2 separate regions of the Homo sapiens genome follow, and region 2 is linked to region 1. Evidence: promoter capture Hi-C in 16 types of primary human blood cells and fetal thymus (Javierre and others, 2016). All regions are on one chromosome and are shown on one strand. Each heading gives the region's core, a stretch centred on a gene start or on the middle of the fragment in contact. The rest is flanking DNA. Distances are from core to core; before and after follow the strand shown.

What was found. Contacts are between HindIII fragments. The CHiCAGO score rates a contact against its expected background, and 5 or more counts as called.
Region 2: a fragment that was not itself captured here is called in contact with the fragment with the promoter of AGO2 in region 1 in 1 of 17 cell types (erythroblasts); the score reaches 5.2 in erythroblasts.

The regions. Positions count from the first base shown.
Region 1 is chr8:140,632,055-140,639,140 of GRCh38, reverse strand. It overlaps AGO2 (argonaute RISC catalytic component 2), which reads left to right and starts at 3,508. Exons shown (of 19, transcript NM_012154.5): 1 at 3,508-3,656. The coding sequence starts at 3,635. It overlaps ERICD (E2F1-regulated inhibitor of cell death), which reads right to left and starts at 4,906. Exons shown (of 1, transcript NR_170171.1): 1 at 858-4,906. RefSeq lists silencers at 2,944-3,343, 3,994-4,163, 4,647-4,696 and enhancers at 4,503-5,269, 5,270-6,037. The HindIII fragment of the contact is 24,992 bases long and covers 1-4,940 here.
Region 2 is chr8:140,938,971-140,945,745 of GRCh38, reverse strand. All of the region lies in intron 1 of PTK2 (protein tyrosine kinase 2), which reads left to right. It also overlaps the pseudogene RNA5SP278. Among named protein-coding and RNA genes, the nearest start is that of PTK2, 59 kb to the left of the region's middle. The HindIII fragment of the contact is 5,639 bases long and covers 1,318-6,775 here.

The DNA of each region.
Region 1 (7,086 bases), core at 2,259-4,758:
GTCCCAGCACTTTGGGGGCTGAGGCTGGTGGATCACTTGAGCCCAGGAATTTGAAACCAGCCTGGACAATATGGTGAAACATCATCTCTACAAAGATTAGCTGAGCCTGGTGGGATACTCTTGTAGTCCTAGTAACTTGGGAGGCTGAGGTAGGAGGATTATTTAAGTCCAGGAGGCTGCAGTGAGCTATGATTGCACCACTGCACTCCAGCATGGGCAATAGAGTGAGACCCTGTCTAGAAAAATACAAAAACAAAAAAAATAAGGTCAGGTGTAGTGGCTCATGCCTGTAATCCCAGCACTTTGAGGAGGCCAAGGTGGGAGGATCACTTGGGCCAAGCAGTTCAAGACCAACCTGAGCAACACAGTGAGACCTGTCTCTACAAAAGTTTTTAAAAATTAGCCAGGCATGGTGGCATGCACCTGTGGTCCCAGCTGCTCAGGAGGCTGAGGTGGGAGGATCACTTGAGCCTGGGAAGTCAAGGCTGCAATGAGCTGTGTTTTCGCCACTACACTTTCACTTTGGTGATCCTGTCTCAAAGTATATATTACTCAAAGAATCATAGACTATTAGAGCTGGAAGGGATCATAGAAGACCTCTACCTCTGTGTTTCCTAAATTATGCTCCACGGAACCTTGAGGTACCTCGTGAAAAAAGGGTTCTGTGGCTAAATGGGTTTGGGACAGGTTGCATACTGTCTCATGCCCTCCTTCCTCTTTGTAGAAGCATGATTCTTCTCACCTTGCTACAGGCTCTGAGAAGGCCTGCAGACAATAAACTTATTTATCATTGTTTGATCCAGTGCTTCCCAATTTACTTGACTTCCCAAAGCTGCTTTAATCATGTGCAGAACATGTTTTAGGAACAAATGATTTATTCCATTGCCTGCATTTTAGTCTTGAAGAAACAAAGTGCCCCCAAAGCCGAGGGCTTTGTCAGCCCTGTGGCCTCAGGAGCTTTCTCTGTACTTCCCCTCACCCCTTCTTTCTCTCTCATGGGGAGCTGGTGCTTTAGACTGAGTGCACCCAGTGTGCAGAGCTGCAGGCCAGGCTGCTGCAAATGTCCCTGGCTGTGATTAGAGCCCACGGTCTTATCAAAGCATCAGGATCCTAAAACACAGAGGAAGGAATTGTATCAGGGAGAAGCACTGGGTCCAGAAGACCCAGAGTCGGCTGAGTCACCATCCGGGTGTGGGACGTGGGTCTGGGGGACAGAGCAGCAAGGGCTGGAGACATGTCACAGCAAGCACCGAGACGCACAGTCAGATGAGTTAAGCAGGTTCACTAATGGCAGGAGAGGTAACAGGCAGAGGGGACTGCAGTTCTCAGCTCCGTTGGGTGGTGGATCTGTTAGCCATGCTGAGTGAGGGACACCAGAAGAAAAGCAGGTTGGGAGGAGGGTAGGGATGGGGCTGCAGGAAGCGGGCTGAATTCCTGAACACAGGTGTGGAGGGTAGAGACCTGCAGAGAATGGGCTTATCTAGGAAAAGAGCAGAGGGAACCCCGTGCCCCAGAGGGCGAACCCAGTGACTGCATGGGCCCTGGGGATAGAGATGGGGCAGGCAGCAATGGCACCCCTCCGCCAGCAGAGGGCCACGGTGTCCGCCATCCAAAGAGAAGTGACACAATGAAGCCCTCAGAGACATTATCTTGCCTTCTGGAACGAAATCCTTGCAACAAAGTTCCCCAACACAGCGCTCAAAGGAGCTGAAGGCGGGCTGAGGGCAGCCAGTGATGACAGAGCCTTCTGGGCCTTTGCTGAGGCGTGCAGTCGCTGACAGCAGGGCAGTTGGGCCTCAGGGATTTCGGGCCAAAACGAGTTTTGGGGATATGTGAAGGAGACAGGGGCAGAGAGAGAGGGTGGGCATCTGCGAACTGGGAAGATTGATGAGGTTGCATGGTTCATAAATAGGAAAGTGGTAACATTCATGATTATTTAAAAATTTCCGTGAAATACTACAGTAAAGGTACAGAAAAGCATATAAAGTAAAAGTGCAGTTTAAGGGATGGCTGCCAAAGGGCACCATTGCAGGAAGGAACAGGCCTGGCACCCCCAAATCCCCCAGGGGCCCTGCTGTGGTCACAGCCCTCTCACCCCCAGCTGTATCCACCATTCTGACACTTAGAGTAAGCACCTTCTTGCCCTTCTGTCAATTATTTACTACTTAATGATGCTTCCCTAAAGAATGCAGTTTAATTTTGCCTGTTTTGGAATTTTTGTGAATGGCTAGATTCCATCCTGTGAATATGAGCACACTGTTTCTCCATCCTGCTCTCCGTGGGTATTCAGTGCCATGCAGTCCAAGCGGTGATGAAGAATGCCATGCACACTCCTACCCAGGTTTCCTGGTGTTCATTACTACACATTTCAGGAGCACGTTTTGTATCGGCAACTTGGTGAAGACTGATGTCCTTTTGAGTTTTCGGAGGAAGTGCTGGTTCTCCTGCCCTTCTTCAGGGCTGTCCTCCGAGACTGCAGAGAACTAGTGACCACCCTGCTGGCTGCGGAGCTCCTGTCAGTCAGAACTCCTGTTTATTCTCCGCCCGGAACAGGGCCTTGCACCCATATGCAGACAGCCGATGCCACGGGGTGAAGGAATGCTCCGGGAAATCTGGGAAAAGGCGACCAGGCACTTTAGATTGTGGGTCAACCTCTGCCTTCTAATCCTCCATCACTTAGGGGAGAAAGGAGGTAGCCACAGGCTGGCTTTTCCAGGAAAGCCTCCGAAAACCAGACGGACCCAGAGGGACCGGACAGAAACGCTCGGAGGTGCACGACGGTCCGAGCAGGCCCCTGACTGCTGGAATGGGCGTGTCCGCTGATCTGATCCCTGATACCAGCTACAGTTTACTAAAAACTTCTTAGATTTTCTCAGTGCTTTAAACGGATTATCTGGGTTCTGGGGCCGCGCCGGGAGGTGGCGGTGTGGTCCTGCGCGAGCGGCCGGCCGCGTTCAAGTTCAAGCTCCGGGCTGGGAGGGAGCTTCCCGACCTCCGTGTTTCTGTAGTAACTTAAAGAGCCAGGCTGGGGGCCGAGGGGCTGAGGGTGGGAGGGTTCTGCGCCCCCCACCGGGGGGCGGCGGGGAAAGCGGGGGCGCGTGGCCTCCCCTCCGGCTCCGGCGGCACAGCCGGGGGGCCCGGCTCCTCCCCGTCGGGAAGACGCGGCTTCTCTGGGTGGCAGTGAAGGGTCCCCGGGGCCGCGCCCGCCCCCGCGCCACACGGGCCGCGCCGCCCTCGGCCCTCGTCCCCGCTCCCGCCCGCGGTTCCCACCGCCCGGCGAGGTCTCCGGGCCCCTCCCCGGGTCCCCGCCCCAGGCCCCGCCAGACCCGGCGCCGCCGCCGCCGCCGCCGCGGACCCCGCCCGCGCGCCCAGCCCCGCTCCCCCCGCGAGCGCGCTCCCGCCGCCGGCCTCGCCTCCCCTCCCCCTCCCTCCTCCTTCCTCCCCCGCCCCTCCCGCTCCCGCTCCCGCCGCCGCCTCCGCCCGCCGCCCCGGCCGCGTCGGGTAAACCTGTTTGGCGAGGCGGCCGCGCCGGGGCGGATCGTGCGGCCGGCGGCTCCCTCGCGGCTCGCGGCGTCGGGGCCCGTGGCGCGCGCGCGGCCGCCCCTCGGCCCCGGAGCCCCTCGGCGGCGCCACCATGTACTCGGGAGCCGGCCCCGGTGAGTCCTGGCGCTCGGGGCGCCCGCCCGGCCGTTCGCGCGCTCCTGCCCGTGGTTGGCGGGCCCGGCGCGGGCGGCAGGGGCCGGGGATCGGGGGGCCGCGGGGTCGGGGCGGCGGGGGCCGGGGGCGGGCGAGCCGGGGCCGCGCTTGGGGGCTCGAGGAGCGGCGGCGGCGGGGCCGAGCCGGCCGTTTTCTCGGCCCCGCGTTGGACGCGCAGCCCCGGCCTCCTCGGCCCCCGCGAGTCGTCGGGGCGCCCCGCGCGGCCTGGGCCCCTCCCGCGCCTCGGGCCCGCGTCCCAGCGTCCTCGCATCCCCCGCCCGGGGCCCGCGGGCTGGGGCCGGGGCCGAGGCGGCCGCCGCGTGTAGGCCCGAGGCCCGGAGCGCCCCGCTTGGCCCGGCCTCGCTGCCCGGGCGGGGATGGGGGCGCCGCAGCCCGGCCCGGCCTGACCCTGAGCGCCTGAGCGGGTGGAGGCCGGGTCGGGGCGCCCGGCTCGGGGCGCGCACGGGCGGGAGGGGAGGGGGCTGCGCCGGTCCCGACCCCAGCCGCGGTGAGTCTGTGGCGCGCTCCGTTGTGGCCCTTCTTGTTGCCGGCACTTCTTCGGCCCCTTTTCCCAAGGAAAGTCTGGAAATGCTGAATTTTGGCCAATTCCTGTAGTTAGGGCTGTCGCCTGGAAAGGGGAGGACGCGGCTCCCCGGAACCCTCAAACTGCGTGCGCGGCTCGTTCTCATTCCAGACACGCCGGCCTCCCCATTCAAGTGCTAATTCCTTTTACAATTTCCTAGGAGAGGTGAGGCGAGGTGGATTCCTGTAGCACCCCTTGTTGCTAGTCGGCCTTTCTCTGGAAAAGTTCTAAAAAACTTAAAGCGGTAACGCGTTGTTTTTCTTTTTAAATGCAGAGTAGAAGGCGGTCTCCTTGGTGGGCCAAAAAAACGGTCAGGTGTTCTCCTGCTTTTGGCGTGCTCCCACCGGGCACGTGGCTCCTGGCTCTCTCGGCCGGCCTGGCCGCTGGGACGGGGCACCGCCTGCTCCCCTTTGTCCGCTGGGCCCCAGCCGGGCCGCAGGCGGCGCAGGCCCCGCCGGGCTCTGGGCTTATGTTTACCCGGCCGGGCGAGGAGGCTCGCATTCCCGATGCTGCCCTCGTTGCTGCAGACCGGCCCCAAATTGTGGGGTCCGGAAGGCCCCCTGGCCCACCTTGGTCCGTTGATGGTGGCCCCCACTGCTGGAGCTGTTGGCTCTGTGCCTTGCGAATGTCGCGTCTTTTTTCTGATGTCATTTAGAAAGCTTCAACAAGGCGGAGTCTGACCAACTTTTCAACCCCTGAGGGCCATCAGCAGTTTGAAGAATGATTTTCCCCCTCCACCTGGGAGGGGCCGCAGTCCTGGAGCAGGTGCTGGCCTCTAGAGGCCTTGGGTGGCCAGGCCCCCTCTTGGGAAAGGACCGGGCATCCCCTTGTGAGTTGGGACCTTCCAGCTCCTCTTTGTAGAGGAACCCAGCTTATGGGACTGACAGCACTACATTTTTTCAGGTTATCGGTTTTAAAAGTTGGAGGCCCAGAAAAAGTGAAGAGGCTTTAAGGAAGGTCAAGCTTTCTGTGTTGTGTTTTGCGTGTTACTTAATTCACTCCACTTGCTGAGGTTGGTGGTGTTTGTGAAGACAGACAGCCGAGGCTCACAGAGGTTGAGAACTTCACCAAGGTCACACAGCAGTGAGTGAGTATCAGGACAATCGGTCCGACTTCCGAGCTGGTTCTCTGGGTGCCTTCCTCAGGGCAGTCCCTTTCAAGCCCTATAACCCAGACCCACAGTAAGAAGTCTCTGTTAGGGCTGGACTGGACCAGCACCTGCCCGCATACTTGTCATTGACAGCGGGGCTTCAGGAAGCCACCCCAGCTCACTGCTGTACTGTGTGCACTGCCCCGGGATGCTGTCTTGTCGATTTCATTTTTCAGCGTACCTTGGCCCTCATGATCCACAGGCTCGTTTCTGTCACTCGCTGCTTTTTGGAGATTGTTGCCTTGGTGTGGGCCTGGTAGGGAGTGGACCCTCTGGAACAGGACAGTGGTTGAAAGAATAAATGTGTCTGCAGGATAATTCATAGCTAATGGCAGGATGGGAATGAACCCAAGTTTCAGGTTGTACAAACGTGCTGTAATTATAAGTCTGTGGTGCAGTTCCATTTTATGCTACACATTAAGGCTTTTAATTTTGTGTAAAAGGAATTTTTGGAATAGTCTTCATTGAGACTCTTTTTAATCTTATACTTTCTAATTTAGAATTATAAGACATTCAATTTGAATTATAGAAAAATTACATTGGGAGGCCAAGGCGGGCGGATCACGAGGTCAAGAGATCGAGACCATCCTGGCCAACATCATGAAACCCCGTCTCTACTAAAAATACAAAAATTAGCTGGGCGTGGTGGTGCACGCCTGTAGTCCCAGCTACTCGGGAGGCTGAGGCAGGAGAATCGCTTGAACCCTTGAGGCAGAGGTTGCAGTGAGCCAAGATTGCGCCACTGCACTCCAGCCTGGGGACAGAGTGAGACTTGGAGACTCCATCTCAAGAAAAAAAAAAAAAAGAAAAGAAAAATTACAAATAGTTTTGCTACTTCCAATTGTAACACCCTTATTAGGCAACTTACTAATTTAAAAAGCAGTTCACAATAGCTCTACATTATACCAATCACAAACAAATGCTGTGACGTATGTGAATGCTATTTAGAATCTGAAGTTAGAAATGTTACTATTTTTTCGTTTTTTGAACTGAGTTAGTTGTTTAAGATGGGTGGATTCTCCAATGACCTTGAACCTTCACTGATGAACAAATTAGTTTTTTGGTTTTTTAACCATTTAAAGGTCTTGATCTGTGTCTAGTGATTGCCTGCCCCCAGGATATTGTCTCTTATGGTTTTGCTACACTTTCAAGCTCCCGTGTGTTACACCCCTCGCAGATTTGCCACAAAGTAACCTCTGTGACATCTAAGACTTGACAGTTGTCTAAATAGGATTGTGACTTTGAGAAGAGCTGAACTTCACTGTGGTTTATAGAGCCATTTAACTCCTCCTGCCCCCTCTCCCCCTTCCCTCAGTGGTCCCCATGAAGGTATGGCCACTTCTCCCAATACTGGTGCCCATCTGCCATGGCAGGATATCACCCTCTACCCGTGGGGCAGTTGACATGGCCGAGGCCATCGCGGCATGGCTGGGTATTTGTGCAGAGTCCCCCTTGGGTCTTTGATAAACCTTGGGGAATAATTTAAGTAAGTGCATAGGAAAAAAAGATGTAAACGCTTCCAAACTCCTAAACCCTGTGCAATTTGAAGAAGCAGAATTATTTTTTAACTTCTAGTTTCCATGTCAAAAGTTTCCACAATGCCAGTTGGGCTTATTCTCTGTGTGTTGTACAGTGAATGCTCTCCTGTAATGGTCCA
Region 2 (6,775 bases), core at 2,888-5,387, 310 kb before region 1:
TATTAACTTATTGACTTTGCCCTGAAGAGCTTTTAAAAAAGTTTAAATGGGAATTGTGACAATCAGGCCCTGAGGAGCTTTAAAAAAGTTTAAATGGGAATTGTGACAATCAGAATGTTAAACATTGATATATTTTTTGTTTTGTTTTTTTTTGAGAAATAAAGGTCTCATTTTGTCACCCAGGCTGTAGTACAGTGAGTGGCATGTTCATAGCTTACTGTAACCTTAAACTCCTGGGTTCAAATGATCCTCCTGCCTCAACCTCCCAAGTAGCTGAGACCACAGGTGCACACCACTGTGCCTGGCTAATTTTTAAAATTTTTTGTGGAGGAAGGCTCTCACTATGCTGCCCAGGCTAATCTCAAACTCCTGGGCTCAAGTGATCCTCCTGCCTTGGCATCCCAGAGTGCTGGGATTACAGGCATGAGCCATAGTGTCCAGCCTTGATGGTAAATTATTAATGTCCTAAAACCTGAACATAGGATATATCAGGAACACTTGAATTCAAGTGATAACCTTAAACTGTTGATTTTATATATTGATTTACGGAAAAATCTTTACGCATTGGTTACAAAAACTTAATAATCTTGGCATCTAACTATCCAAGCCAATTCATCAGTGCAGGAATGAGTGCTGTAGTACCACTTCAGTTTTCAGGCAAGAACAAGATGAACGACAACAGGAAATTTAAGAAGCTGCTCCGTGTTTGGCCAAATTGGAGAGAGGGCAAGCAGGGAAGTTGGAAAAATGTCATTGAGGCATGTAAGCACAACTTTCGTCTATATGGCGTAGCTATATAGAGAAAATTAAGCCAACAATAATGAGATACTGAAAAACCAAGAGATGAGTACCTTTCTAAAAGAAGCATTGCTCAGTTTGAAATGCTGAAGCAAAATGCTAAGAAATAAGGTTCACAAGTGGTCTTCATGATTGCAAACTCTAGAGTACTTTTTGTGTAAATGCATGGGACTTCTCATGGATGGTCAGGCCGTTATGTTCAGTGGGTGCGCTGTACACAAATATTACTTGCCGGCTGAAGCTTTGACTTTTTACTCAGTTTTGTGAAGAGCACATCCTTCTGGTCTTTATTTGCACTGTGATTCAGGAGTCGCGGCTGAAGGAAATAGTCATAAATCGTAATCGCTGTCATGTGTCAGTCATTGTGTTAATTCAAATCTTAATTCTTTACAGCAGCTCAGTAAGGTTTTGATTACTATTCTCATTTTACAGATGAGAAACTGGGCTTAGAGAAGTTAAGAAGACAGTCCAAGATTCCTCGTGGCAGTATCAAGTTCTCCATTTCCTTACAGTAAAGCTTAGGCCTTAAGGTTAACCACAGTGCACAATTGGGAGTCATACATTTAACAGAGAGAAGAATAGTGCCACCTACTGAATTGCCAGTGACCCTTTCCCCTCTAGTATTGTACTTCCTTTTAAAATGTATCAGTCGTGTTAAAATGCAGTATTTCTGCAAAGCCTTGCAAATTTCTTAATCATCTGTGTTGCTGGCTTATACTGAGGGAAGAGTGTAGTTTCATAAAATACTCGTCAAAACAGGGAAAATTTTGATTTCCTGATTCTGAAAGTGGGCAGGCAACTTTGCATAGGATCTTACCTTCAGAGAAAGGAAGAGACGGGGATGAGTGTTTTTTCTTTCAATCCGTCTTTGCATATCATAGTGTTGTGAGTTGGGGTGGCAAGTAGGCAGTTTAGATTTTTACCCAGTACTCATGAATTCCAAATGGTTTAACAAAATATACAAACACTTCAGCATTTTTTCTTTGATAAACTGTCTGATTAAAAAAGATAGGTGTCTCAATAAAAATTTCAATGAAAAAGTGGCCAAAAGATTTGGACAGACATTTCATCCATTTCATATGAATGAGAGTAAGCACACAAAAAGATGTTCCACATTAGTAGTCGTTAGGAAATGTAAATTACAACCACACGAGATATCATTGCAACCCTATTAGAATGGCTGATGTTAAAAACCAAAAAGAAGGTGACAGTGCCACATGACAAGAATGTGAGACAGTTAGTACTCTCCTGCTTTGCTGGTGGAAGTGCAAAATGTTATGATTGCTAAAGAAATCAGTTTGGCACTTTCTTATGAAGTTGAACATAGACTTGTCACCCAACCCAGCAGTCCTACTTCTAAATATTTACTCAAGAGAAATGAAAACATTTTCTTACAATGACCTCTATGTGAACATTTATAGCAGCTTTATTCGTAATCACTGGAGACAGCTCAAATATCCATCAGTTGGTAAATGGATAAACAGATTTTGGTACACCTATACAATGGAATCCTATACAGCAATAAAAAGGAACTAACTGCTGACGCACCTAACAAAATGGGCAGATCTTCAAAGCAGTCTACTAAGTGAAAACACTAAACTCCATATAACTGTGATTTCATTTATATAACATTTTGGTAAGTCAAATCTGTAAGAACAGAAATAAAATCAGTGGTTGCCTGGGGCGGAAGAGAGAATTGAGTATAAAAGAGCATGGGGGCACTTCTTGGGGTGATGGAAATAGTCTGTGTCTTCAGCGTGGTGGTGGTTACACAGACCCACTTGTATTAGGCTGTTCTTGCGTTGGTATAAAGAAATACCCAAGACTGGGTAATTTGTAAAGAAAAGAGGTTTAATCGGCTCACTGTTCTGCGGGCTGTACAGGAAACATGGCACCGGCTTCCAGGGAGGCGTCGGAGAGCTTTTACTCATGATGGAAGGTGAAGTGGGAGCAGATGCGTCACATGGCAAGAGAGAACAAGAGAGAGAGTGGGAGGTGCCATACACTTTTAAACAACCAGATCTCACATGAACTCGCTTGTCACCAAGGGAATGGCACTAAGCCATTCATGAGGAATACGCCCCCGTGATCCAAACACCTCCTACCAGGCTGCACTTCCAACACTGGGGACTACATTTCAACATGAGATTTGGCTGGGAAACAGATCCAGTCCTTATCACCATCCACCTGATGTTTTTATTGTGCACGTTATGCCTCAAGAAATAAAACTTTAAAGAGAAGAAAAAGTGACTTATATGCAAACAGATATTATCCATATACTCTTGCACACATATATGCGCGCACACACACACACACACACGCACGCACTCATTAGAGCTCAAATTTTCTTTCCAGCTGGATCAACATTTATTTGTCTGGATTAGGTACCACCAAAGTTGAAGTGAAGTAGATTTCAGTGTAGACACTGCTTTTGAAAACAGTCTTGAAGTCCTTGATTCATTTATGTAATCTGATTTATTTGTGGCCTAAAGGCTTTATATTTGTCTTTGTATAATGAGATTGTATATTATAAAGGTCATATAATTAGCAGAAATAAAAGATGTTTAAAAGTTATTTTAGTATTTGTTGCTCAAGTTCTTGTAGCTCTGGAGAAAAATAGTTTTATCAGCGTTATAAATAAAAATGCTATTTCTTATATTGATGAAACTATGCAGTCTTCAGCTCCATCTTTTAGTTAATAGTTAATGAGCTATAATGGTAGGGTACATTTATGTTTTAAACTGCTAGAATTAAGAATGTACATAGTAAGTCTAGGTGCAGAGGTTCATGCCTGTAATCCCAACCCTTTGGGAGGCTGAGGTGGGAGGATCGCTTGAGCCCAGGAGTTTGAACAACATGGCAACACCTCATCTCTACAAAAAATTTTAAAATTAGCCAGGTGTGGTGGCACATGCCTGTGGTCCCAGCTACTCGGGAGGCTGAGGCGGGAGAATTGCTTGAACCTGGGGGTGGTCAAGCTGCAGTGAGCTATGTTCACCCCACTGCACTGCAGCCTGGACGACAGAGCAAGTCCCTCTCTCAATAAAACAAACAAACAAACAAACAAACAAAAAGTTAGCTGGGCGTGGTGGTGCGTGCCTGTAGTCCCAGGTACTTGGGAGACTGAGGTGGGAGGATCGCCTGAGCCTGAGGGGTCGAGGCTGCATTGAGCTGAGATCATGCCACTGCATCCCAGCGTAGGTGACAAAAGTGAGACCCTGTCTCCAAAAAAAAAATAGAGTTGCTCATTACTACTTTGTGGTACTTGTTGATGTCCTGTGGAGCAGCCATTTAGCATTTTTTTTCCCAATAAACTCTTGGTTAAAAAGCCACAACAGTGAGTAGGAGTGGAATCAAAGTAGAAAGTTGTATGTTCTAATTTTCGTTTAAAAATCAGTTTATTTTAAATGATGAGCTCATCATTTTACGATCTTCAGGATATACTATAATGTGTGGCACTAATAGAATCAGTGATAGAATAAGGTGCATTACAGTAGGGCTTCCTAAGTTGCTTTTTGTTTATTTAATGCATATGCTCTTCTGTGTCTTGAGACACTGTCTCCAGCAGATGAGACCTGTTTATTACAGCCTCTGCAGAGAACTATTTGTGTGTTGATCACACAGTAAATATCTAATGGTAGCCTCTTTGACATTTGGTGTTTGGGAACAGGAGGGAGATTGCTGATTGTTCTGCTTTTTATATTTTATTGTCTCACTCCATCCCTGTATTTTTCTCTGGGAATGTCTTCATTAACTTAACCCTGGTTTTGAAGGCTTAAAAGTGTGCTGGTACGCTTTTTAGAATTGGTGACAGTTCCGGTTGGTGTAGCCCAGGTGGCAGTCATTCATGGTTCACTTGTCATTGCATGAACTTGGGATAGCTGTTCATATTGTGTTCATTTCAGTTGAATTTATGTGTGTGATTGTTGTATTACACATGTTGAATTTATTTTTTTTTAATTAAAAAAATTTTTTTTGAGATGGAGTTTCGCTCTTGTCACCCAGGCTGGAATGCAATGGTGTGGTCTCAGCTCACTGCAACCACTGCCTCCTGGGTTCAAGCAATTCTCCTGCCTCAGCCTCCCAAGTAGCGCAGGTACTCACCACCATGCCCGGCTAATTTTTGTATTTTTAGTAGAGACAGGGTTTTACCATGTTGTCCAGGCTGGTCTTGAACTCCTGATCTCAGGTGATCTGCCTGCCTCAGCCTCCCAAAGTGCTGGGATTACAGGCGTGAGCCACTGTGCCCGGCCATGTTCATATTAAAAAAACAATTTTATTTTAAGCCTACAGCACCCAGTATTTTCAGGCAGCCTCCCAATCCCAATACTACTAACCAGGCCCCACGCTGCTTAGCTTTTGAGATTGGATGGCATGGCTGTAGACCATGGTCATATTTTGGCAAGTGATGTCCCTTATAGCAGTTCTTACCCTTGATACAGGATCCTGTCTGGAATCACTTGTAATATATAGTCATGACTCTTTAGTCTTTTTTTTTTGAGACAGAGTCTCGCTTTGTCACCCAGACTGGAGTGCAGTGGCACTATCTCATCTCACTGCAAGCTCCGTTTCCCGGGTTCAGGCCTGCCTGAGTCTCTCAAGTGGCGCCATCCACACCTGGCCAATTTTTTTGTTTCACTATTTTGGCCAGGCTGGTCTCGAACTCCTGGCTTCAGGTGATCCACCCGCCTCGGCCTCCCAAATGCAAAGTAGTGTTTCTTTCCTGATGTACAGGATGTTGTGTTTTTCATCATGAACATAACTGTTAATCCCAAGTTCTTCAAGCAAAAGTCTGTATTTATTACTTGCCCATCCTATCAGGGATATGTTAGGATATGTCAATACGAACAGTAAGTGTAGCTGGAGCTAGTGATGAGTGAATGTGAATCAAGAAAAGTAAATGGATTTATTCTTTCATTCGACACAGTTGAGTGCCTTCCGTGGGCCAGGCCCCGTGCTCTACTCTGTTCTTCTGTTCATTTTTCCCCACTCATCTTTCAGATGATTCCTTGGTGATTTGGAGTTGTTTTTGGCACTTCGCCTAGATTTTGATGTAAATTTTAGTAACTCAGTCTCTCCCTTTTAAAAGGTATCTTTCTTTCTTAATTTGTGACATCGAGATTATCACTAATAAATAGTTAATGCCAGAGCAGGACAAATATCAAAATAATTTTTCATTGTATAAGCCTTTTGCGAAATGATTTACCATAAAGTGAATAAATGTGTACATACTACCTAGTTTTTATCTCCTAGTGACAACAGCTTTGAAATAAAAAAAATCCTGGTAGAATAATGGTGTTTGGGTATATGTATGACATAGGTGACCTAGAATGAGGGACTAGATGTGACTTCTAGGCCACATGGCCAGAATGGTATGTAATATTTGACTGTGGAAGATTTGTGCAACCCCAAATGATAATTTTATTCTGGGCCTGTAGGGTTGATGAAGGCTACCTGTTGGATTTGTGTGGAAACTGGATCCTAAATCTATCATCTTTTGATGGACTAGGGGCAGATGAGACTTGATCATTGTTAGAGCTGAACTTGCAGTATATAGAGCTGAACTTGTATAGTACACATATCAATAGCAGTGATAGATGTGGGAAAACTTTGATCACTTATGTATGCTTGTCATTAATTTTTTTGCAATTTCTTGAATGAAAAATTTTGAACTAGTAAACATTTAAAAATAAAATGTATAGTTTTTTCGAATCTGGCTTTAAATGTTTAGAATAAGTCTCTGGATTTAAAGGTTAGGATATACTTTTATTCATTAGATGATAAAGTTTATTGTGTATGCATCTGGAAGATTGTTCAGACTGTTGAAGAAGATGTATCCTTTGTTTGCCCCCAGCCCTTTCCTTTTCTTCCCCAACCCTACTTTTATTCACGTAAGAAGATGGAAGAGGGGAGGAAAGCAGGGTGTGACTTTTTATGCAAAAATATTCTTTTTTCAAAAAAAAAAATACTGAGAATG